Regions from separate parts of the Homo sapiens genome. Here region 1 is linked to region 2. Evidence: promoter capture Hi-C in 16 types of primary human blood cells and fetal thymus (Javierre and others, 2016). All regions are on one chromosome and are shown on one strand. The core of a region is centred on a gene start or on the middle of the fragment in contact, and the rest is flanking DNA. Distances in the headings are between cores, read along the strand shown. Region 1 holds the start of TRY-GTA1-1 (tRNA-Tyr (anticodon GTA) 1-1). Region 2 holds the start of H4C7 (H4 clustered histone 7).

Region 1 (6,334 bases), core at 2,553-5,052, 320 kb after region 2:
CACGCTATTCTCTTCATGGTAAGTTCTCACCAGATCTAACGGTTTTTATAAGGGGCTTCTTCCTTCACTTGGTTCTCAGTCTCTCTCCTGCTGCCCTGTGAAAAGTAGGCACCCTTCTAGGGGCATGCATTATCACGTGAAAGTATACCAATGTTAAATGCAGAAACAATAGACTCTAAGGAGACTTCAGAAAGGAAAAACAGTAATATAAAAGAGGTCAGAAAACGGATACCTCTCACTGACACCTATTAGACAAGTACAGGACGAGATCTTGACAGGGAGTGGAAGGATATCCTGCCCTATCTCATTAGGGTTACTCTGTGAGGCAAGACCAGGAGTGGGGATAGGTCTGGAACAGCCATGTTGTAATAAGCTTTCCAAGAAAACGTCACTACATTATTTTGGAGGACAGTATGAAAGGTAATGTAGCTGGGAGAATTGGGGATAATCAAAAAACAGGCTATCTCACTCAGCTTTCTTCCTATTTATTTATTTATGACACAGGGTCTCCCTCTGTTGCCCAGGCTGGAGTACAGTGGCGCGATCTCAGCTCACTGCAGCCTCGACTTCCCAGTGAGGCAGAAAAATAGGGCCTGGAGTCAAGGAACATAAGGCCAACTCACACTTCAGCTATAACAGGAAATATCCTCTCCATAGGGCATACACGGAGTAAATTACTTTGTAACTTTAATTCATCCTCTTCATTTACATAGGGCGTACCCCAAGTAGATGATATTTAAACTCACAAAAACTCTGTAACGGGGCCTTTGAGCTCCTGTGCTCAGCCCCACTCCCACACTGTGGAGTATACTTTCGTTTTCAATAAAACCCTTCATTCTTTCCTTGCTCTGTTTGTGCGTTTTGTCCAGTTCTTTGTTCAAGACGCCAAGAACCTGGACACCCTCCACCATTACCACCATTAACACCAGGCTCTAGTGATCCTCCCATCTCAGCCTCCTGAGTAGCTGGAGCTGTAGGCACGTGCCACCACGCCCAGCTAACTTTTGTATTTTTTGTAGAGACGGGGTTTTGCCATATTCCCCAGTGGTGGCTCACGCCTGTAATCCCAGCACTTTGGGAGGCTGAGGCGGGTTGATCACGAGGTCAGGAGTTTGAGACCAGCCTGGCCAACATGGTGAAACCCTGTCTCTACTAAAAATACAAAAATTAGCTGGGCGCGGTGGCGGGCGCTTGTAATCCCAGCTACTAGGGAGGCTGAGGCAGAAGAATTGCTTGAACCTGGGAGGCGGAGGTTGCAGTGAGCCAAGATCGGGCCACTGCACCACTCCAGTCTGGGTGACTGAGCAAGACTCCGTCTCAGGGGAAAAAAAAAAGTGATTCTGATCAATCGCTTCTTCAAAATTCCTAACTAAGCATGGGCAACATAGTGAGACCTATGACTCAACATACTGAGTCTCTACAAAAATACAAAAACAAAATAAACCAGCCCATTAGCTGGGCATGATGATATGTGCCTTAATCCCAGCTGCTCAGGTGGCTGAGGGGAGATGATCCCTTGAGCCTAGGAGTTCAAGACTTTAGTGAGCTTTGATCCCACCGCTGCACCCCAGCCTGGACCACTGCACCCCAGCATCAACAACAGAGTGTGACCCTGTCTCGAAAAAAAAAATCCTCTGTAAGGACTATAACTCCATCTAGGAGGCTTTCCTTAATTAATCTCAACCAAATCTGATCTCTTACATAGTCTAAATTCTTGTGTACTTAGCTTTTTTTGTGGTACTGTTTGGGACTTGTTTTAATGATTACATTATTACTCGTATGCTTCCTATGGTGTTATTCTTGAATTTTTTATACTCTAATTTCACTAAAGATAAGGCCCAGCGAAAAGGCTTTCAAAGTACTCTCTGTGGGTTCCCCTGTTTGAGCCTGTGGGAGTAAGGCAGTGGACAGCACACTCTGAGAACTGTGCGTTACAAATTCTATTTAATTTGATATTCACAACTATCCCCTTAGGATCTGTATTACCTTCATTATCATCATCTCCATTTTGTATAAGGCATGAGGAAGTTAGGGAAGTCATACTACTAGTGAGACATAGATTCAAAGGTGGACTAAGTGGCTCCAATACCTCTCTGTGTTCTTTCCATTACATCATACATACGAGTAAATAGCCTGTCCATGTTGCTGTAACTTCTACTACCAAAATTCATTATTTACTTTTAAATTGTGTTCAAAAGGGTCTATGTATACAATTAGTTCAATACATATTTACTTTTTAGGAAGCATTACAGTACAGTTACTGTTGAAACACATGCCACAGAAATTGGTTCTTCACTCACTCCCGAGGGACCCAAGCAGCCTCCACTTGGGGTTCTTCCGGCGTTATCTGGCGCTGCTGCACCACGTCCTCCCCTACACGTGGAGGTCGGTGGTGCGATTTCCTCACCCTCAAGGGACTCAAGGGACCACGCGCTCGCAAAGAACCCAGGGCCTCTTCCATCAGCTCGCAGCAGGTACGCAGTAAACCTTTACCGAATGAATGAATGGAAATCAAATCTGCGAATTAACTGCATGTTAGTTTGCCACATGGGCTGCATTTTAAAATTTTATTTATTTATTTACTTATTTTTATTTATTTTTTTTGAGACGGAGTCTCGCTCCGTCGCCCAGGCTGGAGTGCAGCGGCGCGATCTCGGCTCACTGCAAGCCCCGCCTCCCAGGTTCGCGCCATTTTCCTGTCTCAGCCTCCCGAGTAGCTAGGACTACAGGCGCCCGCCACCATGCCCGGCTGTATTTTTAGTAGAGACGGGGTTTCACCATGTTAGCCGGGATGGTCTCGATCTCCTGACCTCGTGATCCGCCCGCCTCGGCCTCCCAAAGTGCTGGGATTACAGGCGTGAGCCACCGCGCCCGGGGGGAACTTCTTTTAATGGTGCCAATCTTATGGACCTCAGACACCTCTCAGTGAGAACTTGCTGGCATTTTGTGTGGAGAACAGAACCGAGGGGACCAATCTGGACAAGGGGAGCCAATTAGAAAACTGCAGGCCCAGGATTATCTTATTTTCATTCTCTAGAGCAGAGTTTCAATAGAGCGCTATTGACATTTTGGACTAGATATTATAATTCTTTGTTGTGGGGGCTGTTCTATGCATTACAGGATGTTTACTAGCATTCCTGTTCTTTACCTACTACATTCCTCAGTCACAACAATTTACCTACTATATTCCTCAGTCACAACAATTAAAAATGTCTTCTTACATTGTCAGATGACCGTTGTGAAGGCAAAATTGCTCCATTAGAGAAATTACTGCTCCACGAGTATGTACCATTGTTTTGGCTTACTATTTATTTTTGAGACAGGGTCTGGCTCTGTCGCTCAGGCTGCAGTGCAGTGACGTGACACAATCATAGCTCACTGTGGCCTCACACTCTTTGGCTCATGGGATCCTCCCTCCTCAGCCAGTCCCAGTAGCTGGGACTACAGGCCCCCGACCACTACGACCCGCTAATTTTTGTATTTTTTGTAGAAACAGGGTTTCACCATGTTGGCCATGGCTGATCTCGAACTCCTGGTCTCAAGAGACTTAGCTGCCTCAGGCTCCCAAACTGCTGAGATTACAGGCCTGAGCCACCAAGCCCGGCCTAGTTTACTATTTATTGATTAGGGTAGTTTTTCAGCTTTGTAAGGGAACGTCGTGATGTGGTGATGCAAATGAACTTCGTCTGATATTTAGTTATTTTCCGTCCTGTAGAAACAGTACAGTTTTATTGTCCTGTAAGGCAGTTTCCAGTTCTCTACCTCACTTAGCAATGTTAATTTACAGCATTGCTTCTTTCAGTGACTATCAATAAATTCTTCGATCCAGTTTTACCAGTTTTACCATCTTGATGATTCCCTCATTAGTGAATTAAACCTTTGACAAGTGTTTATTTCATATTCGTATATGAATCATGCATTTAACCGTTTGAAAAGTGTATTTTGACCAAATGTATAAAAGTAAATACATCTGTGAAATAGGATAACTTATTCAGGCAATTGAGGTTGGAGAGGAGATAAAACATTACATTTAATTCATCGAGACTCGCCCCACTCAAATAAATGTTTCATGGACTTGAGGAGATTAATGGCCAAGTTAAATGTACTTTCAATTTTTGTTCAGAAAAGAAAAAAAAAATCTGTGTGCCATAAAGGAGTGAACATTGGGCTCAATGGCCTACTTGCACAAGAAGGATCATTTGCCCTGTGCATGTTTCATTATATGACAAGGTAATTATCTTTAATGGAACATGAAAAAGAATGAAACAGATTTTTTTTTCTCTTTTCTTTTTTTTTTTTTTTTTTTTTTTTTTGAGACGGAGTCTTGCTCTGTGGAGTGGCTGGAGTGCGGTGGCAACATATCTGCTCACTGCAACCTCTGCCTCCTAGGTTGCAGTGATTCTCCTGCCTCGGCCTCCCGAGTAGCTGGGATTACAGGCGCCCACCACCACCACGCCCGGCTGATTCTTGTAGTTTTAACAGAGACAGGGGTGTCACCATTTTGGCCAGGTTGGTCTCGAACTCCTGACCTCAGGTGATCTCCCCGTCTCGGCCTGCTGAAGTCCTGGGATTACAGAGGTAAGTCACCGCGCCGGGCCATAATGAAACAGATTTCGGATGCCAGATTCCACCACAAGTGGATTTTTTCATTAACAAGGGAGGATAATAGCTATTCTGAGCTTCAGAGTCATAGAAAGCTAGACAAGAATCTTACACTTTGCAAAACTAATATTTGAAATGATATTACCTTGTGTTAATCATTTAAAAATGTATCATTTTAGCACACCCATGGATAGGTTTTTGCTGAGTTAAGAATTAATGTGATGGCCAGCTGCTGTGGGCTCACGCCTATGATCCTAGGGCTTTAGAAGGCCAAAACGGGCGGATCACTTGAGGCCAAGAGTTCGAGACCAGCCTGGCCAACATGGCAAAAATCACAACTCTACTAAAAATATAAAAATTAGGCGGGCGTGGTGGCTTGCGTTTGTAATCCCAGCTGCTCGAAGGCTGAGGCGGGAGAACGGGAGAATCGCTCGAACCTGGGAAGCGGAGGTTGCAGTGAGCCGATATCGCGCCACTGCACTCCAGCCCAGGCGACAGAGCGAGACTCTGTCTCAAAAAAAAAAAAAAAATTATTATGCTTTCGAAGTTGCATTATTTAGCCTGCTCTTCCTTCTCTTCCTCCTGTCAGTTATCTCAATAAAATCCCATTAAAATTGCATTGTTAAAGTGTTTCAAATTCTATTTTTAGGTAGAGGTTAAAATTGGTTATATAATGCATTCATCACAACAAAAGATGGTCATTGCTAAATTCTTATCAGTTCCTTGTGCCTCCTTAACATTTTATGTTTCTTTTTGTAAACTAGTGAGGGTGGTGCTCCCGTTTTCTCCCTGTTTCAGAGAAAAGGGCCTCTGAATATCAGTCAGTTCCGAAGGGGTAGTGGATGTCAAAAGAACATCAACGACGCAGGTAAACAGGACGACAAGCATCCACGATTGCCCAACCTTCCGCAGAGATGGCATCCCCAGCGGGAAGTGAAAGTCGTGTGAATCCTTCGATAGCTCAGTTGGTAGAGCGGAGGACTGTAGTTGGCTGTGTCCTTAGACATCCTTAGGTCGCTGGTTCGAATCCGGCTCGAAGGAGTTCACAATTTTTTTTTTTTGCGTAAGTTTTAAAATTCATTCTCAGAAATGCGTATTTCACTTATACATATCCTCGATAAGAATCTATTTAAAACTATTCTGGATGTGCAGTGAATCTCTTTAATTTTTTATTATTCTCCGTAACAATTTTTAACACGCGCCATCAAGACTTCATCCCTATAATTCGTATAATCCAACCCTCTTAGAAGCCCTGGGCACTGAGGAAGTGAATCAGACACTGGTCCACTGGGCTAGAGATCCACAGAGGCGTCTCCACCCCTCAACCCCGGATCCACAGCCGGGGGAAAGGGGCGGCTGGTGGGAATTACTCGGAGCAACTGGTAATTGGTGGGGCACGCGCGTGCCCTGGTGTTCAGAGTTCTGAATCGTTGCGAGTCAGTTACAAGCTGAACCACTAGCGTCTGAACCCTATACATCTGAAGCCGGGATGAAATTCAGGAGTTCTATTCCCCCTTCTCCTTTTAATTGTCATGGTGGTGTCTTTCGACCCTAGCAGAGAATATGTGGTCGATATTAGAATCACCTGGGGAGATTTTACAAAGCATCTATGCTTGGGTTTCTTTGGAGGTAAGATTCAGGTATTGTAGTTTCAAAAGCTCACCAGCTGACTTTCCTGTACTGCAAGTTTTGAAAAACACTGGTAGAAGAGAATCATTTTAGGAGAAAATAG
Region 2 (5,896 bases), core at 939-3,438:
TTCCCTTTCATTGGCTGTTAGCAGCATCTCTCCAGACCAGGGATCCCTCTCTCTGCAGCTATAGCAATTGCTTCCCATGCCCCTTCAGGGTTATAAGTGATCCTTACTAGACCTGGATGGAGGCACTACTTTTTTAGTTTTCTGTATCCTGCCCTTAATTTGCAAATAATTTCTTTAAGAAACCCTCCTCCAATTATCCCATGTGAGTAAGCTACTTGTTTCCTGTCTTGACCTTAGCAGAACCCAATATTTTCACTACACAGCACAAAGTTTATGGCCATAATATCCAAAAGAATTGATGTAACTTAAATGCAAGTTTCTCCATGTCACACCTCATTAACATGCTTCCAACAGCATAAGGTTAATTCTCAGTTTCTCAATTTGCAAGAGGAGGCCCTCCTCAATCAGGCAACTGCCAGGCATGCATCTTTGGTCATATATGTATTCCCAGTCTCCATGGCATCAAACTACTTATTGCCCCTTGTGTCTTCACACTAGTGGAGACCTACCCTCTCCCAACAGTACCTGAACTGCCCTGTTCCCATGTCCCTCCCCTCTGGCTAACAGCTGATCATGATGAGTGAGAGCAAGAGGAATAAATGTGCCTGCATATGACAAGTGTCATGCGGCTCAGTGTCCTGCTACTTGCATCCTCTCTCTGCAGACAGGTCTTTTACACTTACCTGTTCAGAGACCTCTCCCGTGATGGCACCAGAGTTTGTAACAGTTTATTATGTTAATTTTTCCCAAATTTTTATTATAAAAATATTCAGAATAAAACATAACAAAAGATGGGTTTATCAGTCATCCACTACCTACATTCAATAGAGTGGATTTTACCACCATCCGAAAGTAAATGACAGACTCATGAGAATTTACACCTACACACTTCAGCATCTAACCCCTAACAATAAGGGAAATTCCATGTAATCTCAATATATCAAACCTTTCTTTAAAAACTTACTAAAATGACCTGTTATCCAGTTCACGTTCAAGTTTCCTTGATTATCTCCAAAATGCCCTTTAAAACTTTAGAGACAGAATGCAATTAATACATTTAGTTGCTATGTTACTTTAATCTCCTTCAAACTTAAAGTCCTCCAGTTTTTCTCGGTGGCTTTTTGAACAAAGCAATTGTCCCAAATGTTCCACATTCTGGAAGGTTTTTTCCCCCTCTTGAGATGTTTAATTGGCTCTTTGACCCCTGTACTTTCATAAACAGTAAATTGAGACACGAATTATTGCAGTTACACCTTATCAAGGTGTTTCTATATTTACGATGGATCACAAGCAAAGGCACGAAACAGGTAAACTTCTTTTAGTGCTGCTAAATTAGATCATTGAACTAGCAAGGGGGCCAGTCCCTCCACTGCAGACACATTTGTCAGAACGGCACCTGGCAAGTTTGTGCTAATTATTGTGTATTCTCTGGTTATTGAAATTGCTTATTAAGCAGAATATAAAAGTCGGGTTATCTTGGCACTAAAACTACAATTTTAATTACGGAGGGTAATCCTAACAGTAAGGAGAAAAACACACTACCATAACCACATTTTGAGAGCTTTTAAGTGACAATGTAGCCGTTGATGTCCTCAGCCAGCCCACCAGATTTCTAATCTCTGAACACACGATTAACTTACCACCTGTATTCCATGTTGTATGTCAGCCTTGGCGTAAATTTATACTTTACAGCATTATACACCTAACAGCTTTTGGGCACCTACAGCAATAAAACACACAATATTGCTGAGTGCGTTAGTTAAGTTTCCACAATGTCAAACGTGAGCCCTTCGGAAGAAAACGTACGCGGCCCTGAAAAGGGCCATTAACGATATTGCAAGGAAAGGCCTGGCCTCACTTAACCGCCAAAGCCTTACAGGGTTCTTCCCTGGCGTTTGAGCACGTAGACCACGGCCATGGCGGTGACCGTCTTGCGCTTGGCGTGCTCCGTGTTGGTCACGGCGTACCAGATCACATTTTCCAGGAACACCTTGAACACCCGGCGGGTCTCCTCATAAATGAGGCCCAAGATGCGCTTGACACCGCCATGCCGGGCCAAGCGCCGGATAGTGCACTTGGTAATGCCCTGAATATTATCGCTCAGTACCTTGCGATGGCACTTGGCACCGCCTTTCCCAAGGCCTTTTCCGGCCTTGCCCCGAACAGACATGATAAACAAGTCAGAACTATCTCTAAACAAAACGATTACTCGCTTTCCGCAGCCTTTTATATAACGGTAGAGTAGACCTTTTTGAAAACTGAAAGACCAGGAAAGGCGGGAAAACGTATTCAGTCCCCGCTCATCTACTTCTAGTAATAACAAGACATAAGAAATTCTCTTGTAGTAGGGAGATTTGCTGGCATTTAGAGAATAAGGATCTCTAAACGAAAGTGTCAAACATGTACCTAGAGGAAAGTATCTCGATTTTTGATGTCTGTATGTGTTTAAAGATTTACTCCTGGCCGGGCGCGGTGGCTCACGCCTGTAATCCCAGCACTTTTGGAGGCCGAGGCGGGCGGATCACGAGCTCAGGAGATCGAGACCATCCTGGCTAACACGGTGAAACCCTGTCTCTAATAAAAATACAAAAAATTAGCAGGGCGAGGTGGCGGGCGCCTGTAGTCCCAGCTATGCAGGAGGCTGAGGCAGAAGAATGGCATGAACCCCGTGGGGTGGAGCCTGCAGTGAGCCGAGATCACGTCACTGCACTCTAGCCTGGGCAAGGGCGAAGCCCGTCTCAAAAAAGAAAAAAAAAAGATTTACTCCTTCCCTGTATATTAGAGCATTTACCATGCTGAAGTTGAAACAAGCCCAAATTCCAAGACATAAAAGAATTCCTAATCATATTGCCAAGCCGCCCAGCTAAAGAGAAGTAGCCTGGTTTTTGGTTTCGAATCTGTGAGTGACTGCTCTCTCACCGATATTAGACATGTTAATCTGAGTTTCAATGGCCCTATCTGTAAAAAGGGTAAATACTTGTTAATAATTGAGTTACTTTAAGCAAAACACTGGCATATAGTTAGTAAATGATTTTTTTTTAAAATACGGAGTTTCGCTCTTGTTGCCCAGGCTGGAGTGCAATGGCGCAATCTCTGCCCACTGCAACCTCCACCTTCTGGGTTCAAGCTATTCTCCTACCTCGGCCTCCCAAGTAGCTGGAATTACAGGTATGTGCCACCACTCCCGGCTCATTTTTGTATTTTAGTAGAGACCAGATTTCACGTTGGCCAGGCTGGTCTCCAACTCCTGCCCTCAGGTGATCCGCCCGCCTTGGCCTCCCAAAGTGCTGGGATTACAGGCGTGAGCCACCTCACCGGCCAGTTGGTAAACGAATTCTTATTGCCACAGCCTTTTTTTACAGACAAAATAATAATGCAGAGGTAAAGCACACCGAAGGATTTTAAAACATTGCCTTTGCAACACCAATACATTCAGTGTGCTTTCACTTATATTAAGCACTATACAATTAAGCAATGAAGAATTGCCCAGAAAAAAGATAATGTAAATTGCCAGAGGCTCCATGCCCTGTTCTCATGTGGAGGACAGAAGGTACAGGGGGTGACTGTCTTCTGGGGTTGATACAACAGGAAACTCAGGGAAAGCTGTCATAAATGTTAATAGGAGAAAAGGGGAATTTGCTCACAAGCCAAAATAAAGACATAAGCACCACTAAATTTTTACATTACAAAATACTTGCTGAGCTAGTTAAACGAGAGCATTTAAGTGGAAATAAATGATGTCTCTAAAATAGAATGTTCAAAATAACAATGGATTTTTTATTGTGCAGTTACGATGCACCAAACAAACAGTCCTAAAGATCATGGGTTTTTGAAGCAGGGTCAGCAATATCTAAAAAATCATGTAACTGCATAAATGAATTATGGCCTAATGAGCAGGTCACCACAACAAAAAGCCAAGAGTGCAAACAACTATTTGTGGGGAAAACAAACAAACAAACTTGATAAACCATGGAATTCCAAGCAATAAAAGCAGCAATCCCATCACAGCCTATTTCTACATTATTTTGAAATAATTAGATTTTTTTTTTTTTTTTTTTTTTTTTTTTTTGAGGCGGGGTCTCACTCTGTAGCCCAGGCTGGAGTGCAGTGGCACGATCCCGGCTCACTGCAACCTCCACCTCCCAGGTTCAAGTGATTCTTCTGCCTCAGCCTCCCTAGTCGCTGGGATTACAGTTGCCTGCTACCACGTCCGGCTAATTTTTTGTATTTATAGTAGACAGGGTTTCTCCATGTTGGCCAGGCTGATTAAATTACTAGAATAACAAGAAATTGCGCTGGGCACGGTGGATTACGCCTGTAATCCTAGCACTTTGGGAGGCCAAGGAGTCACATCACCTGAGGTCAGGAGTTCCAGACCAATCATAGCCAACATGGTGAAACCCCCGTCTCTACTAAAGCTACAAAATTAGCCGGGCGTGGTGGCACACGCCTGTGATCCCAGCTACTCGGGAGGCTGAGGCAGGAGAATCGCTTGAACCCGGGAGGCGGAGGTCCCAGTGAGCCGGGATCCCGCATTGCGCCACTGCACTCCATCCTGGCTGACAAGAGCGAAACTCCGCCTAAAAAAAAAAAAAAGTTGCAATAATATTTCCTTGAACCCCGTTTTCCCTGAGCATAGTGTACAGCTTCACCTGCACCTCGGGGTTTTAATTGGAAGGCTCCCATGCCAAGTAAAATTTGTATTATATTAACTTGTATCCGTTTCTCCTGTTGATGTCTCAAATGAACTCTCAGGGCAAGCCAAAAAGAATAATAATGATTTAACTCCCCATACTGTCACAAATAAAGCTTTCGTACACTTTTGTCAACAAGTTGTTTCCTTTGTCCCTGTAGTTTTGGTTTTGCCTCAGCACACAACCATTTTCTGTTTTGTTGTTTTGAGACAGGGTTTCGCTGTCACCCATGGAGGAGTGGAGTGGCGCGATCTCGGCTTACTTCAACGGCTGCCTCCCAGGTCCAAGCGATTCTCCTTCCTCAGCCCCCGATATAGCTGGGACTGCAGGAGGGCGCCACCACACCCGTATTTTTGTTTTTTGGTTTTGTACTTTTAGTGAAGACGGGTTTTCACTATGTTAGGCAGACTAGTCTCGAATTCCTGACCTTTGTATAAGTAACCCGCCCTCCTCGGGCTCCCACAGTACTGGGATTACAAGGCGTGAGCCGCCACTATCGGCCATTTTGAAGACAATGGCCAAGACACAAAAGCCTAGTTTAGAAGAGCCACCGGCCCTGCCCCCATCCCCTAACCCTCCACCCTCCTTGTTTTAGGAGACATTACTCCCTAGTGCTACGGCGCTTTCAACTGAAATTGTTGGTGGCTCTGAAAAGAGCCTTTGGTTTAAGTTGGCGCACACCCTCAGTACAACTTATGCCCTCTCTCCGCGAATGCGGCGAGCGAGCTGGATGTCCTTGGGCATGATAGTCACTCGCTTGGCGTGGATAGCACACAGGTTGGTGTCCTCAAAGAGCCCCACCAGGTAAGCCTCGCAGGCCTCCTGCAGCGCCATCACAGCCGAGCTCTGGAAGCGCAGGTCGGTCTTGAAGTCCTGCGCGATCTCACGTACCAGACGCTGGAATGGTAGCTTGCGAATCAGTAGCTCAGTCGATTTCTGATAGCGGCGGATTTCACGGAGGGCGACAGTACCAGGCCTGTAGCGGTGGGGCTTCTTCACGCCACCGGTGGCTGGCGCGCTTTTGCGAGCCGCCTTAGTGGCCAGCTGCTTGCGCGGGGCTTTGCCGCCAGTGGACTTACGAGCTGTTTGCTTCGTGCGTGCCATAGGAATGGGTTTCAAGCAATGGTCACAACTGAACAAACAGTTGTTCTTACTCCTATTTATAAAGGCAAAGTCCTTCTGATTGGTCCGAATCTTCCAGT

What was found. Contacts are between HindIII fragments. The CHiCAGO score rates a contact against its expected background, and 5 or more counts as called.
Region 1: a fragment that was not itself captured here is called in contact with the fragment with the promoter of H4C7 in region 2 in 11 of 17 cell types (total CD4 T cells, naive CD8 T cells, activated CD4 T cells and 8 more); the score reaches 8.7 in total CD4 T cells.

What each region holds. Positions count from the first base shown.
Region 1 is chr6:26,563,306-26,569,639 of GRCh38, forward strand. It overlaps TRY-GTA1-1 (tRNA-Tyr (anticodon GTA) 1-1), which reads left to right and starts at 5,553; the gene lies at 5,553-5,643. LOC105374988 (a long non-coding RNA gene) reads left to right here and starts at 6,019. Exons shown (of 2, transcript NR_134611.1): 1 at 6,019-6,231. RefSeq lists an enhancer at 6,095-6,224. The HindIII fragment of the contact is 6,863 bases long and covers 372-6,334 here.
Region 2 is chr6:26,244,808-26,250,703 of GRCh38, forward strand. H4C7 (H4 clustered histone 7) reads right to left here and starts at 2,189. Exons shown (of 1, transcript NM_003547.3): 1 at 1,804-2,189. The coding sequence starts at 2,170. The coding sequence ends at 1,874. It overlaps H3C7 (H3 clustered histone 7), which reads right to left and starts at 5,828. Exons shown (of 1, transcript NM_021018.3): 1 at 5,335-5,828. The coding sequence starts at 5,798. The coding sequence ends at 5,388. RefSeq lists enhancers at 4,661-4,740, 4,881-5,250, 5,551-5,710. The HindIII fragment of the contact is 5,476 bases long and covers 1-4,807 here.